2 separate regions of the Homo sapiens genome follow, and region 2 is linked to region 1. The links are contacts of gene promoters, found by promoter capture Hi-C in blood cells and fetal thymus (Javierre and others, 2016). All regions are on one chromosome and are shown on one strand. Each heading gives the region's core, a stretch centred on a gene start or on the middle of the fragment in contact. The rest is flanking DNA. Distances are from core to core; before and after follow the strand shown. Region 1 holds the start of PPP3CB (protein phosphatase 3 catalytic subunit beta). Region 2 overlaps SAMD8 (sterile alpha motif domain containing 8).

The links. The method cuts DNA at HindIII sites, captures the fragments that hold promoters and counts their contacts. A CHiCAGO score of 5 or more calls a contact.
Region 2: a contact is called between a fragment that was not itself captured here and the fragment with the promoter of PPP3CB in region 1, in 1 of 17 cell types (fetal thymus). The highest score is 5.0, in fetal thymus.

What each region holds. Positions count from the first base shown.
Region 1 is chr10:73,492,126-73,497,554 of GRCh38, forward strand. It overlaps PPP3CB (protein phosphatase 3 catalytic subunit beta), which reads right to left and starts at 3,899. Exons shown (of 14, transcript NM_021132.4): 1 at 3,680-3,899. The coding sequence starts at 3,764. It overlaps PPP3CB-AS1 (PPP3CB antisense RNA 1), which reads left to right and starts at 3,627. Exons shown (of 5, transcript NR_132104.1): 1 at 3,627-3,692; 2 at 4,017-4,358. It overlaps USP54 (ubiquitin specific peptidase 54), which reads right to left. Exons shown (of 24, transcript NM_001391956.1): 24 at 5,413-5,429. RefSeq lists enhancers at 2,966-3,425, 3,916-4,105 and a silencer at 3,486-3,835. The HindIII fragment of the contact is 5,148 bases long and covers 2,809-5,429 here.
Region 2 is chr10:75,113,401-75,119,295 of GRCh38, forward strand. All of the region lies in intron 1 of SAMD8 (sterile alpha motif domain containing 8), which reads left to right. Among named protein-coding and RNA genes, the nearest start is that of SAMD8, 4.7 kb to the left of the region's middle. The HindIII fragment of the contact is 1,565 bases long and covers 1,456-3,020 here.

The DNA.
Region 1 (5,429 bases), core at 2,649-5,148:
TAGCTTAAAAAAAATTAAAACACATAAATTCAGCATTTTGGTTCAATCTGAAAGTCTGATAATTTGAGGTTACTATAACCCATGAAATAAAATAATGTTAAGAAAATGACTCACATTGTAGGTGCTAAAATGAACATATGCCCAATACTGACAATGCTCTCTAAGTAAAAAGGTGAATTTTTTATTAATACTAACAGTCTTGATAATCTCAAGAGACAATCCAGCTTTACAAATCTAGAACCTGGTATACAAAGCAAAACGTACATTTTTTAAGTATCTGGGGAAAAAAGGAGGTATCTGGGCAATTCAGGTCAAGTAAACTTTGTGGGGAGGAGGGAAAGCAATATATATAAATTCAGGATTTTGTGCTTCAATTACCTATACCAGCTTTGCTGATGTGGTAAGAAAGCACACATGCAGATACGGTTAGATATTTTTCCTAATTTTTTTCCACTTTCTTATTTCCTACATAGCTAAAGAATGCTTAATAGAATATAATTAAAAGGGTATATACCATCTTGCTTAATCAGGTGGGTTAGATCAACTTTCAAACAGGGGAAGAATTTGACTTGAGCCAGCAGCTGGAGTAGGCTCAGAACTGAATTTAATCAACCAAAAACCTAATGACCCATAATCAATGACATGGAATTACCACTAATAATTTTAGTGACAAGCTCATCACATTTACTCATGAATCACCTACAGTATTCCAAGCTCCCAAACTTCACAAAAAGTGAATTTCAGGTATCTGATCTTAAACACAGAAAGACCTATACACCCTTAAAAACCTACATGACCATAAAATGTAGGCCTTATGACTACAAGCATGGAGTATAAAATTTTGACACTAAGAAGTTCCAGGGAGGCAGGCCGGGCGCGGTGGCTCACGCCTGTAATCCCAACACTTTGGGAGGCCACGGTGGGAGGATCATGAGGTCAGGAGTTTGAGACCAGCCTGGCCAACATGGTGAAACCCCGTCTCTGCTAAAAAATACAAAAAATTAACCGGGCATGGTGGCGCGCACCTATAATCCCAGCTACTCGGGAGGCTGAGGCAGGAGAATCGCTTGAACCCAGGAGGCAGAGGTTGCAGTGAGTAGAGATCGCGCCACTGCACTCCACTTGGGCAACAAGAGTGAAACTCCGTCTCAAAAAAAAAAAAAAAATTCCAGGGAGAAAAAGACTACTTGCATTCAATGCCAACAGACAGTCTCCATAATATCACTACTATGAAAATGTATCGATACAAAACTACCACCACATTGTGGACTTAAAAGAAATTTGGATTTTAACAAGTTAAACTTAAGCTGAACTCACATCATTTATCATCAGGCAACCAGTATTCTCTAATATCAGGTATCACATTATAGTATAATTACTGAATAAAAGACAAGGAAGAATCCTGAAGATGAAATTTAAAAGTGAATTTCTGGATCTGTAAGAAAGGTGAATTTCCCAGTAAATGCAGGAGACTCCATGAGCAGTGCAAATTAGTCTGTTACACACCATTTTAAAACATATAATCCATACAGGAATTCCAACTGGTTAACAAATTCCATAAAGAAATGAAAGTTGTCTCTATGAAGAGGGCACAATGAAGCACCAGAAATATGATAACCATAAGCTTTATTTAACTATAATTTTCTATATTAACAAGCTCCTTTCCTATTTATCTAAATCAAATGGCTTTTATTCCACACCAATAACCTGCAAATATGACTGCCTTGGACTCACAACTCACCCCTAAGGAATCTGCCTTATGTTTGGAATCTTATTTTCACTGCATTAAAGCAGTACAGAAAAAACATTACCATATATATGACAAGGAATAAGAAGATTCACAAACGTAAGGATAGCATAAACTCATTGTTCAGGAATGTGATTGGTTACCCCATCTAACAGTCTGGTGAAAAGTGCCCAGGGAAATGAACACACAACACAGAAATACAGTCAGAAAATGAAGAGGTAGCCAATGTCCCGTTCCCACCCCCACAAAACTCCAGGATTTCTTGATAGAATGAATGTCTGCATTACTATTTTTTTTTTAAGATTTCTCTGTATTAAGGATTCCATAAACTCGTTATTCAGCTCATTCCAATGCCTGGCCCAACTGGATATACTACTAACTTAAGCCTAGGTGCAAATCAGTGTTTTGTTTTTGTTTTTGTTTTTGTTTTTGGAGACAGGGTCTGGCTCTGTCGTCCAGGTTGGAGCACACTGGCGCAAATCTCGGCTCACTGCAACTTCTGCCTCTCGGGCTCCAGTGATTCTCGTGCCTCAGCCTCCCGATCCGCTGGGACTACAGGGGCGCGCCACCATGCCCGGCTAATTTTTATTTTTTGTATTTTTGGTAGAGAAAAGGTTTCGCCATGTTGCCCAGGCTGGTCTCCAACTCCTGAGTTCAAGCGATCCGCCTGCCTCAGCATCCGAAAGTGCTGGGATTACAGATGTGAGCCACCACGCCAGGCCAAATTAGTATTATTCTTTTAAGAACCGAAGAAGGCTCAGGTTGAAAATTTTTAATTAAAAAAAAAAAAGAAAAAAGGTTTCCTTGTTTTTAAATATTTTAATGGAAACATATGAGTCAGATTTCAAAAAGTAGGCTAACGGTGTTTAAATACTGTGCCAGTGTATTTGAGAAGCTGAATGAAAACAAAAGTACCTATATTTTAAAAATAAATACAATACAAATAAGGAAAAGTTCATTCTACGATTTCAATTTATCAATCAAGCTACATGGTAAAGAGAATCATTTCAATTGTTTTTCACCTCCACAGCAGTGTTTGAGGTTGGTAGGCTCTCCCAGGAAGCTTGGAATCTTAAGCAACTCTCAATTAGCCCTCAATTTCTCTATTTTAAATTAATCTGCTGACCTGTTGTGGGTAAACATCCATAAATTCTGCCCTGGCTGAGAAACATTTAACTTTTTCGTCTAGGATGAATGTGTGGGTGTGTGTTTGTAAGGGAGGGGTAACTCCTTTTGACCAAAGTGTTGATGGTTTTCTAAGTAAATACTTGCTATCCACAAGAATTTTTTTTTTCGTTTATGCTGCTTTTTCTCCCTTTCTGCACTATAAAGGCTGGCCTTCCAATTCCTGCCCCGACCCTTCACCGTGATCCAATCCCACAAGGTTCCCCTAATTTCTGCTCCGGGTGGCACCTGACGGCCAAAAGTGAACCCCTGCGGTTGTCGCCAGCTAGACGCGGATAGGGCGGACGACTGTCACCGGGGAGCAGGCGTGGGCCAAAGCCGAGGTGATTTCTGACTGCTCACTGGCGGGCCTCGCGTGGCTGAAGGTCTCCGAGCCCCTCGGTTCGCCCCGGCAAGCCAGAAGTGCAGCTGTCGCGGGGCAGGAAGCTAATCGCGGCCCCTGCGCCGCTTTGACAGGCCGAGTGAAGAGAAAACGGGCTCACTGCAGCTAACAGCCTCACCCCTTGGGCTAGGAAGCCACGGAAGCAAAACCTCCGCCCCGGCCTGAAAGCAACCGGGAGACCGCGGAACCACTGCCACCGACTCAGCCCTGCCCAGCAGGGGCCCGCCCAGGGGCCACTCCCCAAGGGAGGCAGCCAGTCACTCGCCCGCCCTTCCGGGCCCACTCCCGAGGGGACGGTCTCCCGCCCGCCCTCACACACAGCTAGCTCTTCAGGCCAGGCCCCCAGGGTTTCGTCCACCTCTCACCTTTGACGACGCGGTCAGCCCCGGGAGGGGGCGGCGGGGGCGGGGGTGGGGGCGGTGCAGCCCGGGCCGGCTCCGGGGCGGCCATGCTGGGCCCGGGGCTCGGCTAGGCTCTGGGCCGGGCGGGGTTGGGGGCGGGGGCGGCGGCTACCAGAGCCAAGCGGCGGCGCCGCCGGGGAACATGGCGGACCCTCTTTCCCTACAGAGGGGCTAAGACCGGCATGCACTGCGCGTGCGGGGGTGGGGGCGGGGTAGGCTCTAGGGACTTGGGCAAAATTACTGAAGCTAGGAGAGAAACAGGACGAGGCCAAGGGATCAGGTTAAAATTCTTTGCATGCAGAATGAAGAATGAGGAGGTGCTGCGATCGAACGACTGCGAGGAAACACACCCGCTCTCATGGCATTCCCAGTAAACTGAGAAGACGTGATTAAACCTCAGGATCTCCTACTAATAGAGAAATGTATAACGATTTAGCTACCAGATCTGAATACTGAAGGGTTGGTAGGGGACCAGAGAATAGAGGAAGCATTGTAGGTTCTAGAGTGGAGAAGGGACCATCCAAAATGGAGTTTGAAAGAGAATTCTGGCCTTTGTGTTTAGAGTCTGGAATTGTCAAGAGTCTGAAAGCACAGAATAAGACTGCAGCTAGAGCAATTTAGGCGCCATAGTTTGTCAAAACAGGTAAGGGGAATAAAGGGGATGACACCAAGAGATGTGCAAAGAATCTGAAGAATTCACCTGAAAAGGATACAACCTCCTCCTGGAAGGCAGAGGAGTAAATAGGGAATTGGAAATTAATTCCTTATTTCTGCACATGCACAGAATCTGGGCCCAGGTGACTTATGGAACCTTTATAGAGACCACGGTGACTGACACTCATGGGAAAGGGGGTAGAGGGGCAAGAACTGACTGTTCATCAAAAATTATTAGATGAGTGTGTCCACGACACCAGGAGATATGTTGAATCATGGACAGGGACCAGCATATCCACTAAGCTCTATATATCTTGATGGTGCAGGATCCAAGTGGGATGGAACAACCAATTCCTGCCCATCCTCCTGCTCAATAATACATGTGCTCAGAATCTGTTCATAATGCATGGTGGTAAGTAAGTAGTAGTCCGAAGGTCCAAGGAGTACCTTTCTACCTCTTCTTTGTGTCAATTTCTATCCTGAGACCCCAGGAAAAGAGGAAGGGAAAGACCCAACAATGGATTTTTTCCAAAAAGGGAACCCACAAGCTATTTTTTAGAGGGAAGAGTCTCGGGAGTGAGGCACAGGTGAAAATGGATCTTTCTGGCATGGAAGGGCCATAACACCACAGGGGAAGGGAAAGGGAGAGGCCCCCACGGAAGGAGAGGAAGGAAGGGACAGGAGGCACGTCACAAACTTATAAGATAGAGGGAAGGCACCTGGAGTACATTGATCAGGAGTGAGTCTGTAAGAAGAGCTTGAATCCCCAGAAAATCTTCCTAAGGAGGGGAGGAAGGAAGTGTATAATGTACTGAGTACTGAATGCTCTGTCAGGAAAGGGATGGGAAACATCCTAGCAGCAATACTAGAAAGGAAAGGCACCCTATTTTAGGACCCATTGATTCCCACCTTGATTGTATATCCTTCAACTCGTCTCTGGCTCCTCACTTCCACTCAGTCAAAAGCCACTTCATATATTTATCCAGACTTCCAGCCCCAATACAAAGAAAGCAAGAGCATACAAAGGGAAGAATGACAAGGAATTAAATAGAACTGTCTT
Region 2 (5,895 bases), core at 988-3,487, 1.6 Mb after region 1:
TTGAGACAGAGATTCGCTGTGTTGCCCAGGCTTAAGTGATCCTCCCACCTCAGCCTCCCAAGTAGCTGGGAGTAGCTGGGACTGCAGGTGGGCGCCACCATGGCTGGCTAATTTTTGTTAGCATCAAGCGTTTTCTAAATGCTTGATTAAATCTAAATGGATATCTACTGTTTAATCTTCATGAGATGATAATTTGATTTGCAACAGCTTTTAAATTAGTTTATGTGTATGGGCTATGTGACATACCCTCAGATGCACAGTGGAATAGTAATTGTTTCTTCAAAGGATATGTGAATTCTTAGCTAAAAATGCTGAGATTGTTAAAGTATTAATTCCCTTTTCTTTAACTTAATACAAATTATCTTCAGTTGAAGTTTATGTAATATTACTGTTTGTTGGTTTTATCTTTAGAGTGAGATCCTCTGGAGACCTTATCTTCATACTTAGTTGTGAATAAAAGTCATGGCATGTAAAAATTTGCTGAACTGCAATATAAGAACTCTATTAAGATTACAGCTTAATGTTATTGCAAAATTAAAGAGAAACTGTTAGATGGAGTTGTACAATTAACATATTAGCATGTCTAATAGTTTTTTAATTTTTGTTTCCCTTTGTCAGTTCTCACACCCATTGAATAAAGAAAATCAGTTTTTGGCTAGGTGTGGTGGCTTACTCCTGTAATCCCACCACTTTAGGAGGCCGAAGCAGGCAGATCACTTGAGGTCAGGAGTTCAAGACCAGCTTGGCCAACATGGCAAAACCCCATCTCTACTAATACTATAAAAAGAATTAATCAGGTGTGGTGGCTCACACCTGTAATCCCAGCTACTCAGGAGGCTGAGGCAGGAGAATCTCTTGAACCCGGGAAGCAGAGGTTGTGAGCTGAGATCACACCACTGCACTCCAGCCTGGGCAACAGAGTGATATGTCTCAAAAAAAAAAAAAAAATCGGTTTCTCTAAGGCAGAAGAAGCCATCATGACTGCGATGGCAGAATATGCAGACATATTTAGGTAAATCAGTTTTGATTTCAGTACCATAACCCCCCTTCTGCAAAAGCTTATTCACATTGCACAGTTGCTTATAAACATTTTTTTATTTTGTTAATCATTAGATCCTCAATACTTCTTCAAAACTTTGCTGTTACTGATTAAGACATTTTCATGGCTTTTCTAAGAATTGAAATTTGAACACTTTTTTTGAGAAACTTAAATCACAGATGTTTCCATGAATAGTATTATTATTGTTTTATAAGAATGCCATGTTAACAAGCTATTCTTTCAAGATTTTTACTTCCAGGCCTGATGTAATATATGGTGTTAATTGTTGGGTGTACCTAGCATGCCCGTTAATTTATGGATGGAAATCTTTCCTGTCTTCAGATTCTACCCCCTTCATTTTTCATATGCCAGTGGATTGTTAATGAACTAAGATTGAATTCACTTTTTAATTTTAAAGCTTCTGTAGCTTTGATTCTCTTTGGACATCAAACTGATTTATACGAGATATGAATACAATTGCATATTCTGCTAAATTACCTATGAAGCTCTTTTGAATGATTGTGGTATTTGGTGAAAAAATACAGTATGAGCTAATCAAAATTCTTTTAAGGGATTTAGGTTATAGAGGAGGACTATACTATTTCATTCCCAGATTAGATTAAATGTTTTACTTATTTGCAGAGATGACAGGGGAGAGCCTTGATTATTTTCACGTCTCATGTATTTATATTTGTTTACAAATAAAGAGTTACTTATTTGCAAAATGCCGTATCTTTAATACTTGCTTACATGTGATTTTGGGAATTCTTTTGGAACCAGTTTTTGTTCTTGTTTTTGTTTTGCTCTAAGGGTATGATGTAACACATTGAGGGGTTAATAGTAGGGCAAGAACAGAGAAAGCCATTTGACAACAGATATCATCAGGACAGTGATGCTTACTTTAGGTCTTGTGGTTTTCTTGGCCTTGAGAAATCAAGATGTTAACTAAAAATAGGAGAGCATGGGCCAGGCACACTGGGAAAACAGATTGGTGTTTACATGCTACCGCTGTTGCTTCCTGGTAATTTGCCATATGAATGTGTGGGTATGGATTTGTAACAGACCTGTGATGTGAATATTCCTGAACCCCCTCCTCCCATACACACAGTACCATCATCACAGATCTGAAGCCTAACCTTTAGCTGAGTTCAGTGACTTCATGTTTCCGTATTGAAATGTTCTGTTATTGGGTCCTCACAATACTATAGAATGTAACATACTGCGGGCACGGTGGCTCACGCCTGTAATCTCAGCACTTTGGGAGGCCGAGGCGGGCGGATCACGAGGCCAGGAGATCGAGACCATCCTGGCGAACACGGTGAAACCCCGTCTCTACTAAAAATACAAAAAAATTAGCCGGGCCTCGTGGCAGGCGCCTGTAGTCCCAGCTACTCAGGAGGCTGAGGCAGGAGAATGGCATGAACCCGAGAGGCGGAGCTTGCAGTGAGCGGAGATCACACCACTGCACTCCAGCCTGGGCAACAGAGCGAGACTCCGTCTCAAAAAAAAAAAAAAAAAAAGACTATTAACTAAGAAAAACTTGGTTATAATAGTTTCACCACAGTGTTTCACCATAAAACAATGTTTTATGATATGTACCTCAGAAAAGAGTGTTGTGGGGCAGGGCAGTGAATTATATTTATATTTGTCTAAGTATTTTTTGGTAGTTTTTTTTTTTTAAAGATAGGGTCTCACTGTCTCCCAGGCTGGAATACAGTGGCGCGATCATGGCTTATGCAGCCTTGAACTCCTGGGCTCAAGCAGTCCTCCTGCCTCAGCTTTCTGAGTAGCTGGGACTATAGGCGTGTGCCACCACACCTGGCTAATTTTTTTAAATTTTTCTTTTGTAGAGATGGGGTATCAGCTATGTTGACCAGGCTGGTTTAGAGCTCCTGGCCTCGAGCAGTCCTCCCACCTCAGCCTCCCAAAGTGCTAGGATTACAGGTGTGAGTGTCTTAAATTTTTGAAGTGCATTTAGTTAAGCTTATGAGTTGTGGCAGAGGACAAGAGGTAGTAACATGAGTATCTGTTATCTTGATACTTGTTCTGTTGTCTTGAAATTTTTGACAGATAAATTCTAGTTGGAGGTGAGAACCATGGATTCTGCTAATTTAGGGCCTTCCTATAGGTTAACTGGTGTCACTGAGTTTTTGGAAATACTTGCAAATCTGTTTTAGTTTGGAACTTTGAGATTAAATGGAATTGATGTCAGTTCCATCAATATAATATTAGCATGAAAGCCAGAGATTTCCAAAACCATACATTAAAATTTGGCTGCAAATCCAATCCATTTTCACAATATTTAATGGAGTTTGAAGTCTTGAGCCAGTTTCTCATTTTCCATTATATTGATTAGATTTTGGATGTAGCATATTTATTTATTTATTTAGAGACAGAGTCTCACTTCGTTGCCGAAGCCTGGTGCAGTGGCGTGATGTCAGTTCATAGCAACCTTCGCCTCCCGGGTTCAAGCAATTCTCCCACCTCAGCCTCCCCAGTAGCTGGGATTACAGGCGCGTGCCACCATGCTCGGCTAATTTTTTGTGTTTTTAGTAGAGACGAGGTCTCACTATGTTGCTCAGGCTGGTTTTGAACTCCTCGGCTCAAGGCATCCACCCCCCTTGGCCTCCCAAAGTTGGGTTTACAGGCGTGAACCACCGCAGCCTGCCAGTGTAGCATATTTAAAAATAAAGATTTTACCAGCTGGGTGGGGTGACTCATGCATGTAATCCCAGCACTTTGGGAAGCTGAGGTGGGTGGATCCCTTGAGCCCAGGAGTTTGAGACCAGCCTGAGCAACATAGTGAGACCTCGTCTCTACTAAAAATACAAAAATTAGCCGGGTGTGGTGGTGTGCACCTATAGTCCCAGAACTCAGGAGGCTGAGGTGGGAGGATCACCTGAGCCCAGGAGGTCAAAGCTGCAGTAAGCTGTGATTGCGCCACTGCACTCCAGCCTGGGTAAAGAGTGAGGCCCTATCTTAAAAAAAAAAAAGGGTGGGCGTGATGGCTCACACCTGTAATCCTAGCACTTTGGGAGGCCAAGGTGGGTGGCTTACTTGAGGTCAGGAGTTCAAGACCACCCTGGCCAACATGGTGAAACCTTTTCTCTGCTAAAAGTACAAAAAAATTAGCTGGGCGTGGTGGCACGTACCTGTAATCCCAGCTGCTTGGGAGGCTGAGGCAGGAGAATTGCTTGATCCCAGGAGGCAGAGGTTGCAGTGAGCCGAGATTGCGCCATTATACTCCAGCCTGGGCTACAAGAGTGAAATGCTTTCTCAAACAAACAAACAAACAAAAAAGATTTTACCAAATTGATATGTTAAACTGCTAGCCTGGTTAGAATAAAAATTAGAATTTTAGATACTTAGCTTCTTTACTGGTTTGCTGTGGCATTGCAGCCAGGTCAGGAACCCTTTACCAAATTTATCACCAAAGTCCTATCATCGTGGAAAAATTTTTGGTATAACTGAGAATATAAAATGGACGGTAATATCTGTCAGATTCTTACTCATTGAGGGGAGACAGTTCTGGATTTGGTGTAGATAACTTGGTGCAGCCTGATAGTAGAAGTTAGTTTAAAGGCTATTTGGAACCAGAAAAAGATGTTATTTGGTATATATGACAACTTTTTTTGAGTGAAATTATAAGAGTTCACGGTTAGAGCAGCAAAAAAGTCCAAGAACTGAAGTGCAGCCAAGAGAATGATGATGTAACTGAGGAGGGAATTTAATTCTTTTAAAGATGCTGCCCTAAATTCTACTGCTCAGAAGTGGGACATAACAAAACAGAAAATCACCACTAAAGAGTTTCAAAATGGATGGTAGGAGTTAGTGCAAGGTCTTTGAAACTGTTTTGTAATTATTGCAGATTTTATCGATGTTTTGGAAACAATACCCTGTGCTTGCTAAGAAAATGCAAAATAGGCTGGGCACAGTGGCTTGCGCCTGTAATCCCAGCACTTTGGGAGGGTGAGGCAGGCAGATCACTTGAGATCAGAGTTCGAGACCAGCCTGGCCAGCATGGTGAAATGCTGTCTCTACTAAAAATATAAAAATTAGCCAGGTGTGGTGGTGTGCCCCTATAGTCCCAGCTACTTGGGAGGCAGAGGCAGGAGAATTGTTTGAACCTGGGAGGCAGAGGCTGCAGTGGGCTGAGATCACGCCGCTGCATTCCAGCCTGGGCGACAGAGCAAGACTCCGTCTCAAAAAAGAAAAAGAAAAATATCTTTCTATAAGTATAAAGAGAAAAGAGTAGTTTTTGTTTGCTGAATGAAAATGTTTTCATTTATGGTAAAAATTTTAAAATAGTATGGAAAAAAGTTGGATAATCCCAAATACTATAAACTACAGAGTTATTAATCACAAAGTTTAGCCATATATGCCCAAATTAAACCTTATCCTCCTACATCATAGTTTAGGCTTTTTGCTTTCATAAGAATTGTTTTTATGTTCTGGTTTATGGATCTGCAAACATGTAGTCTTTATTATGTGGATATTAGATAAGCTAAATGTATTTGATTTAGCTGTATTTCAGCTTCAGTGCATCTATAATATATAATTGCCCTAAGAAAAATTTATTAACTCTAGCTTTATATAATGTTTGAAGTCTCTTCCTCAGTGTTTATCTTGGGATATGGATCTTAATTTTTTTACGTTTTATACATCATTTGGAAGCTGTTTAACTTTTAAATTTTGTAAACTAAATCAGTAATGATTTGTTTTTTTTTTTTAATTTGAGACGGAGTTTCGCTCTTGTTACTGAGGCTGGAGTGCAGTGGTGCGATCTCAGCTCGCTGCAACCTCCGCCTCCTGGGTTCAAGCAATTCTGCCTCAGCCTACTGAGTAGCTGGGATTAC